2 separate regions of the Homo sapiens genome follow, and region 1 is linked to region 2. Evidence: promoter capture Hi-C in human tissues and cell types (Jung and others, 2019). All regions are on one chromosome and are shown on one strand. The core of a region is centred on a gene start or on the middle of the fragment in contact, and the rest is flanking DNA. Distances in the headings are between cores, read along the strand shown.

The links. The method cuts DNA at HindIII sites, captures the fragments that hold promoters and counts their contacts. A contact is called where the count stands out against the background at its distance.
Region 1: a fragment that was not itself captured here is called in contact with the fragment with the promoter of TMC1 in region 2 in 2 of the 25 tissues and cell types used here (H1 embryonic stem cells and liver).

The regions. Positions count from the first base shown.
Region 1 is chr9:72,552,816-72,557,402 of GRCh38, forward strand. All of the region lies in intron 1 of TMC1 (transmembrane channel like 1), which reads left to right. Among named protein-coding and RNA genes, the nearest start is that of TMC1, 34 kb to the left of the region's middle. RefSeq lists an enhancer at 4,507-4,587. The HindIII fragment of the contact is 5,070 bases long and covers 315-4,587 here.
Region 2 is chr9:72,518,888-72,523,809 of GRCh38, forward strand. It overlaps TMC1 (transmembrane channel like 1), which reads left to right and starts at 2,721. Exons shown (of 24, transcript NM_138691.3): 1 at 2,721-3,026. LOC101927234 (a long non-coding RNA gene) reads right to left here. Exons shown (of 3, transcript XR_001746721.3): 3 at 4,531-4,922. The HindIII fragment of the contact is 10,357 bases long and covers 1-4,922 here.

The DNA.
Region 1 (4,587 bases), core at 1,600-4,099, 34 kb after region 2:
TATTTATCATATTAAAAGAGGGATCAAGTTCAAAGATTTCAATGCTCTTTATCTTCTTTCTATATATGATATTTATTTTTAAATGTCCATATTAAATATACATATATACACACGATTCTCAGAATTACGAAGAATGTGCTGTGTAGCATTCAATTATATATATAATTTTTTTTTTGAGATGGAGTTTCCCTCTTGTTGCCCAGGCTGGAGTGCAACGGCATGATCTCGGGTCACAGCAACCTCTGCCTCCCAGGTTCAAGTGATTCTCCTACCTCAGCCTCCTGAGTAGCTGGGATTACAGGCATGTGCCACCATGCTGGGCTAATTTTGTATTTTTAGTAGAGACGGGGTTTCTCCATGTTGGTCAGGCTGGTCTCGAACTCCCAACCTCAGGTGATCCACCGGCCTCTGCTTCACAAAGTGCTGGGATTATAGGCGTGAGTCACCAAGCCTGGCTCCAATTCTGTATATTTTTAAATGTAAGTATAAAGATCAAAGATACAAAGTATATTCACATATCAGTTTCCATGTTGTTATTATTATTATTATTTGCCATTTTAACCATCTCCAGATGAAGAAAACTGAATGTAAAGTTAAATATCTCCTTAACTTTTACTCTATTTAAAAAGAGACTGAATTATTTGTGAGGTAACCCAGTTGTAGCTGTTCTACTCTTCTCTACTGCTAGATTTTGGAAGAACCAAAAAGGAATAAAGCAAAGCATGACACAGAAGAGAAAGCAGAATTATACTGTAGTAGTATGCTCATATTTTATCAGAGTTTGCCTGTACTTTTGCTGATTTTTTTTTCTCCTAGCTTGGACATTTTAAAGGCTTATTTTAAATTTATCTCTTCTGTATTAACAGGTGAGAAGTGGACAAATCAATGTATAAAAACTACTATGGCTATCATCATTTAGAATTTTGTCTTAAAAGTAATTGGATTTCTGGGGTCCTAGACACATAATGATTAGAGATCATGCCACCAGTTCTATATGGAGCCATCTCAATTCATCCTTTCTCAATTTATCCTTTCCAGGCATTTTTCTTGAAACTGCCTAAGTACTGGCGTCTCCCTACGACTATTATATCTGAAAACACATTCAGTTTTCAAACCAGCTGAATTTTATGCCTGACTATTCCTTTTAACTTATACCAATGAAAATCCTTTAATAAATTCACTCACAATTGCTCCACTTTCTCAAACAGAGCACAAAGCATCTAACAATATTTCTTCATGATTGATAGCATACACACTCTTGACTTCATATTCTTCAAAATCTTGGTATTTTTATAAGCATTAGTGCCTTTTTTTTCCCCAGTCAGAAGCACTGACGGATTTATTCTATTGGGTGTTGTCTTCTGTTTGGTCTTTAGCTTTTCTTAGCTGTGATCGTTTATTGCTGAATAATTAAGGGCAATTCTTTCCCACTGAAATACTTTTCAAGTTAAACATTTTTTCCTTAAATTTTTGCCCCAGGCTACTTCTAGATCCAGCGTTGTTCCAGCTTACTGAGCATTCCAGAGGGCTAAGGTCCAAGTTAGCCAAGGTTTTAAAATGTTGACCATGTGGACCTGAATTCTTTCCAGTTACATATTTGCATACTTTTAACAGGAGTGGTTATTTCTCGTCAAAAGACAGAACGCTGGAAATACCAGGGCAAAACTATGTGTTTTTTTCTTGGTGATATCTTGATCTTAGCATTTTACTCTCTCTTCCTGGTTTCTAGCTTGACCTTTGTATTTTAGAGGAGAGTAATAGAGTAACAGTGCACTGAGAAGCAATGGGACATGACAGAATAGTTTCAGCAGTGAAAGTCAGGGAAGCTGGTTTCAACCATTCATTCACAAGCTTAAAGGACTTTGGTATCTGACTTTGTGGATGCCACTTTCTCATCTGTAAAATAAGGGGGTTGGATCGTGTGATTTATAAGGGGCTTTCTTACTTTCTAACATTCCATATTCTATAAAGACAGTTAAAGTCTCCAGAGAGTAAAGAATGTAGAAAATTCCTGAAATTTACTCAGCTCCTTTATTCCTAAATATTTTTGAATTCTGAAATTATTATTATTATTATTTTTTGAGATGGAGTCTCACTCTGCTGCCCAGGCCAAAGTGCGATGGCACAATCTCAGCTCACTGCAATCTCTGCTGCCCAGGTTCAAGTGATTCTCCTGCCTCAGTCTTCTGAGTAGCTGGGATTACAGGCATGTGCCACCATGCCTGGCTAACTTTTGTATTTTCAGTAGAGAAGGGGTTTCACCATGTTGGACAGGGTAGTATCAAATTTCTGACCTCAAGTGATCCACCCGCCTCGGCCTCCCAAAGTGCTGGAGTTACAGCCAAAGCACCTGACCTGAATTCTGAGTTTTGATTCTGTTTTTTTTTTTTTTTTTTTGAGACAGAGTTTTGCTCTTGTCACCCAGGCTGGAGTGCAATTGCACGTTCTCCGCTCACAGCAACCTCCATCTCCCGGGTTCAAGTGATTCTCCTGCCTCAGCCTCCCAAGTAGATGGGACTACCACCGTGCCTAGCTAATAATTTTGTGTATTTTAGTAGAGATGGGATTTCACTGTGTTAGCCAGGATGGTCTTGATCTCTTGACCTCGTGACCCTCCCTCCTTGGCCTCCCAAAGTGCTGGGATTACAGGCGTGAGATACTGCGCCCGGCCCATACTCACAGATTTCTTTGTGATATTATCTCATTTGTTTTCACCACACCCAGATGATGTGGATGGTAGGAGAAATCCCATGCGAATAAGTGGAATATGTTAGTAACTGCTTCCTTGGGTCCTTTTGCCTCTGGACTTAACTCTTTTTTTTTGAGACGGAGTCTTGCTCTGTCACCCATGCTGGAGTGCAGTGGCGCAATCTTGGCTCACTGCAACCTCTGCCTCCCAGATTCAAGCAATTCTCCTGCCTCAGCCTCCCGAGTAGCTGGGATTACAGGCATGTGCTGCCACGCCTGGCTAATTTTTTTGTATTTTTAGTAGAGATGGGGTTTCACCATATTCCCCAGGCTGGTCTCAAACTCCTGACCTTGTGATCCACCCACCTTGACCACCCAAAGTGCTGGGATTAGAGGCATGAGCCACTGCACCTGGCCTGGACTTAACTCTTAAATGATGTTACCCAGGAAAACCAATCTATGACTAAGGCAAAAAAAAAAAAAAAAAAAAAAAAAAAAAAAGTTGCACAGAGAAGAGTGGAAATATCAGTAAATCAGAAGCTAGGCAGGCCTAATCCCTAATCCACTTGGTGACCTTCTGCAAAACACCTTTCTGTTAGCCTTTTCACCCGTGAATTTTTTTTTTTTTTTGAGACGGAGTTTCGCTTTGGTTAGCCAGACTGGAGTACAATGGTGCGATCTCAGCTCACTGCAACCTTCGCCTTCTGGGTTCAAGGGATTCTCCTGCCTCAGCCTCCTGAGTAGCTGGGATTACAGGAACCTGCCATCACACCCAGATAATTTTTGTATTTTTAGTAGAGATGGGGTTTCACCGTGTTGGCCAGGCTGGTCTTGAACTCCTGACCTCAGGTGATCCACCTTCCTCGGCTGCCCAAAGTGCTGGGATTACAGGCGTGAGTCACTGTGCCTGGCTTACTTGTGAAATTAAAGCTTCAACTTTTACTCCTTAGGAACGTCTCACAAATTTCCACACATAAATCTAAAGTAGACACTCCTGCTTGCCAAAAGCATACTCTCTAAAACATTGGTTCTCAGACGGACATAGTGGCTCATGCCTGTAATCCCAGCACTTTGGGAGGCCGAGACGGGTGGATCACTTGAGATCAGGAGTTTGAAACCAGCATGGCCAACATCGTGAAACCCCATTTCTACTGAAAATACAAAAAAAATTAGCCAGGTATGGTGGTGCGTGCCTGTAATCCCAGCTACTCGGGAGGCCGAAGCAGGAGAATCACTTGAACCTGGGAGGCGGAGGTTGCAGTGAGCCAGATCCCGCCACTGCACTCTAGCCTGGGAGATAGAGCGAGACTCTGTCTTGGAAACAAACAAACAAACAAACAAACAAAAAAATTGGTTCTTGAGCAGGGCAATTTCACCTCCAAGGGGACATTTGACAATGGCTGGGGACATTTTTGGTTGTCACATCTGGGGTTGGGGAGTGAAGTGCTATTGGCATCTAATACGTAGAGGCCAGGGATGCTGCTGAACATCCTGCAGTGCACAGGACAGCCCCTGACAGCATTAAACAGTCCAAAATGTCAATTGTTTTTTGAGGTTGAGAAACGCTGGTCTAAAAGAAATGACAGGACAGGTGGCTTGGCTCATGCCTATCATCCCAGCACTTTGGGAGGCTGAGGCGAGTGGATCACCTGAGGCCAGTAGCTTGAGACCAGCCTGGCCAACATGGTGAAACCTCTTCTCTACTAAAAATACAAACAATAGCCGGGCGTGGTGGCCCACACCTGTAATCCCAGCTATTCAGAAGGCCAAGGCAGGAGAATCGCTTGAACCCGGGGGGCAAAGATTGCAGTGAGCTAAGATCATGCCACTGCACTCCAGCCTGGGTGACAGAGTGAGACTCTCAAAAAAACAAACAAACAAAAAAACAGAAATGACTCA
Region 2 (4,922 bases), core at 1,471-3,970:
TCTGGAAAGAGCCCAAGATATATTAACATGTATACTACAGAAAAGATTTGAACAATAGCCCCTCAGTTGTGCAAAGTAGGCCAGCATTCCAGAGAGCCTTCCGGACATTCGCTTTTAAATTTCTGTGTCCCTAAAACTATGGTGTAAACTGAAATGACAGGACTTACAGCTCTAAGTTATAAAAATCAGAAAGGACCAGACACATTTAAACAATGCCTCAGCATGCAAGCCATTTGTGATAAAGCAAATTAATTTCTAATTTTCTTATTGTAACTTAGGGGAAGTGGTCTTTTGAAAAATTCATATTAAGCAGGGGATGAAAACAGGAAATGGATTTTGCAGTCTTCAGTCTTAATTTAAGATGCCAAATGGCACTGACAATTGCATGTGCTGCCTTTGTTTTAGTGACGGTAAAAAGAAAAAACAGGTTGGGCGCGGTGGCTCACGCCTGTAATCCCAGCACTTTGGGAGGCTGAGGTGGGTGGCTCACTTGAGGTCAGGAGTTCAAGACCAGTCTGGCTAACATGGTGAAACCCCATCTCTAATAAAAATACAAAAATTAGCTGGGCGGTAGTGGTGTGTACTTGTAATCCCAGCTACTCGTGAGACTGAGGCAGGAGAATCGCTTGAACCCAGGAGGCGGAGGTTGCGGTGAGCTGAGATCACACCACTGCACTCCAATCTGAGTGACAGAGTGAGACCCTGTCCCCCAAAAAATAAAAAATGAAATTAAAATTAAAAAATAAAAAAACAGCTGGGAGTCTGAGGCAGGCAGATCACGTGAGGTCAGGAGTTGAAGACCAGCCTGGTCAACATGGTGAAACCCCGTCTCTACAAAAATACAAAAATTAGCTGGGCATGATGGCAGGTGCCTGTAATCCCAGCTACTCAGGAGGCTGGGGCAGGAGAATCACTTGAACCTGGGAGGCAAAGACTGCAGTGACCCACGACAGTGCTACTGCATTCTGGCCTGGGTGACAGAGCGAGACTCTGCCTCAAAAAATAAAAATAAAATAAAAAATAAAAATAAAAAACAAATGAAAACCAACCAAACAACAACAACAAAAGCCAAAAATAAAAATGCCTGTGAGAGATTTCTTAGAGTCACTCATTATTAGTTCATGCTCCCAGTAGAGATATTTCTTCAATCAAGTCCCAGTTTCCTCCTCTTTTATTGCATTCTTTCGTGAAGAAAGCTTAAAGAAATGAATTCTTGTCCTTGGAAATGAGGGAGGACTATACTATGCTTTCTCTAGAAGGCACTACTGTGTGTTTGAGCATGTTTTTCAAATAATTAGTAGGTGTGAGTGGTTCTGCCAATAGACATACTACATTTATTTTCAGTGATCACTTGAAAAACACACCTATAAGCTTATAATTGCTGACATTAACAAACAACAGGTATGAAGATGCTGTTCACAAAAAGTGCATGTAGTTCCATGTGTTTTATTTAGTCTGTTTGAAATGAAGTTTAGCATATCTATAGCACACAGCATGAAACATGTCAGTCATTTTGAATTTAACATTGTGCATAATGTATTCATAAGAATTATATTTATTTATTAGCATTTATCTTCAAATCAAAGGTTAAAAGTTTCAAGATGCACAAAAATGGTTAACTTTCTGTGAGAAGTCTGAGAAATCACTGAAGACATGAAAATGACAGGCTGGAGGAAGAAGTAAAGAACCTAGAAGGCCAAAATGGAATTCTAAGATAACATGAATATAGAACATAGAAAAGAGAAAGGATTGATTGAAAAAAGGAAAGGGGAAAAAAAAGGAATTATTAAATGGAAACATTAGATTCAAGTAAACCCAAAACAATCATCAAAGTAGATGTTAACAGCATTTTGAGTACATGTTGTGAGTATGAGAAGTGCAATTCTAAATGTTAGGCCCTTATGTTTTAACATATCAGCAAATACAATATTTTGTTTCTAATTTAACAAATTTTTAAGACTTATGTTAGTTGTGACATATTTCCAATAAATAATTATGTTTCCCAAGGACACTGGGTACAATAAAGTGGGTCTGACAATTAACTTACCTTTGAAACCTGAGCCCTTCATTAGTTACAGGAATAGACTGGAACATGATTTTTCCTCTCCTGCTTGGAGAACCCACAAGTTGTGTTTTCTTTATGAATATTGGAAATTCTTTCTTTTAGCCAAATGAAGGGTGTGCATTTCTTCGGCCAGGAGTTACCAGGCTGATAATCCTGATGCAGCGGTTCTCAAAGTCTCCTCAGAAGGCCCGCAGTAGCACCAGCAGCACCAAAGGACTTGTTGGAAACACCAGTTTTCTAGGCCGGGCACAGTGGCTCATGCCTGTAATCCCAGCACTTTCGGAGGCCGAACTCCTGAGGTCAGGAGTTTTGAGACCAGCCTGGCCAACATGGCAAAACCCCGCCTCTACTAAAAATACAAAAATTAGCCGGGTGTAGTGGCGGGCACCTGAAATCACAGTTACTTGGGAGGCTGAGGCAGGAGAATCACTTGAACCTGGGAGGCAGAAGTTGCAGTGAGACAAGATCACACCATTGCACTCCAGCCTGGGCGACAAGAGCAAAACCTCTGATTAGAAAAAAAAAAACAAACAGGCGCCGTGGCTCACGCCTATAACCCCAGCACTTCAGGAGGTTGAGGTGGGCGGATCACCTGAGGTCAGGAGTTCAAGATCAGCCTGGCCAATAGAGTGAAACCCCGCCTCTACAAAAACATGATGGCGCGCGACTGTTTCCCATCTACTCAGAGGCTGAGGCGGGAGAATCGCTTGAACCCGGAAGGCGGAGGTTGCAGTGAGCTGAAATCACGCCATTGCGCTCCAGCCTGGGTGACAGAGCAAGACTCCGTCACAAAAAAAAAAAGAAAAAAGAAACACCAGTTTTCTGATTTCACCGAAGACCTACTGCCTCAGAAACTATGAGGGCAGAACCCAGCAATCTGTGCTTTCTTTCACAAGCCCTCCAGGAGTTGCTGAAATTTAGGAATCATTGCCCCAAAAAGTGGCCCTCATAATGATGCCAGGTAAGGAAAGACAACATTATTACCTATGTGTGGTGTGTTAACATTCTTTATGAAACATGTGTGAAGACCTAAATCGAAGACTTTCTCCATGAGATATTCCCTAATCACATTAGTGAAATAAAACTATATTTCCTCTACTTTTCTACTGCTACAGAAATCTCCCCCAGTTAGGATAGTCCCAGTTTCCTATTTATCTTTGTTTTTCTTGCAGTGCACAGCATGTCACCCAGTAATTGATAAGTTTTTTTTTTTTTGAGACGGAGTCTTGCTCTGTCTCCCAGGCTGGAGTGCAGTGGCGCGATCTCGGCTCCCCAAGTAGCTGGGACTACAGGCGCCCGCCATCACGCCCGGCTAATTTTTTGTATTTTTAGTAGAGACGGGGTTTCGCCGTGTTAGCCAGGATGGTCTCGATTTCCTGACCTCGTGATCCGCCCGCCTCAGCCTCCCAAAGTGCTGGGATTACAGGCGTGAGCCACCGCACCTGGCCTAATTGATATGTTTAAATGTTAAAATTAAATGCAATGATTTCCTAAAATAAACAAATGTGGGACAATTTATTGCACTCTGTTCAAATTCCCATTTTGAAGTGGAATTCAAACAAACATGACAGTAAAGGGGGACAGTGAGCACAGGGACAAGAGAAAAGGAGAAAGGGAAGAAATACAGAGAACTAGATAGGAGGAAGTGTCAAAGACTGATGGGTGTAAGCCACCTTTACCTCTGGATATTGGTTTTCCTTTGAATTGTGGTATGTGGTCATATTGCTTATTAGTTATAACATACAGCTGTCAGAAGAGTTTTTCAATTAAAATTTCAAATGTAATATTAAAACTGTTTGGATTCCTTCCTACTGGGCACTGGACACTGTCTGTGGAGCTGCTGGAACAGCGCTGAATAGGGTCATATTTTAAAGGAACTCAGCCTAGTGCAGTTTCTCAACCTTAGCACTATTGGCCTTTGGGGCCTGATAATCCTTTTTTGTGAGGGGCTGTCCTGTGCACTGTAGGATGTTTAGCAGCATCCTTGGCTTCTACTCAGTAGATGACAGTATCAACCCCCTTCCCCAGAAGTGACAATTAAAAATGTCTCCAGACTTTTCCAAATGTCCCCTGAGGAGCAAAATTGTCTCCAGTTGAAAACCACTGGGTTAGTGGGAGAAACAGATAAGACAGAAGTTCTCCATACACCATGATAATGCCATGATGCCATAGGGCTGGCAGGAGTGAAGGGAAGAGCATCTCACAAAGACTCGGGGGGATGCAGGGAGGAGGAAAAATTAGGAAATGAAGTGGGCTGAGTTGCAGTTAGCCTGTGGGGAAAATGAAGGAGAAGGGATAAGGAAGAAGAGGAGGAAGGAGGGAGGAAGAGTGAGGAGTAATAGGGAATTATAGTTGACCTTGAACAACTTGGGGTTTAGGGATGCCGACCCTTGCGTAGTCAAAAATCTGAGCTTAACTTTTGACTACCCTCACACTTTCCTAACAGCCTACTGTTGACCAGATGCTTTACCAATAACATAAACAGTTTATTAACACATATTTTGTATGTTTTATGTATTATACACTGTATTCTTACAATAAGGTAAGCTAGAGAAAAGAAAATGCTATTAAGAAAATTGTAAGGAAGAAAAAATATATTTACTGTTCATTAAGGGGAAGTAGATCATCATAAAGCTCTTCATCCTTGTCATCTTCAAGTTGAATAGGCTGAAGGAGGAGGGGGAGAGAGAAGAGACTGGCCTTGCTGTCTTAGGGGTGGCAGGGATGGTAGAGGTGCAGGAGGTGGAAGGGGAGGCAGGAAAGGCAGGCACACTCGGGGTAGCTTTCGTTGAAAGAAATCTTCATATGAGTGGACCCATGCAGTTCAAACCTGACTTGTTCAGAGTCAACTGTACTT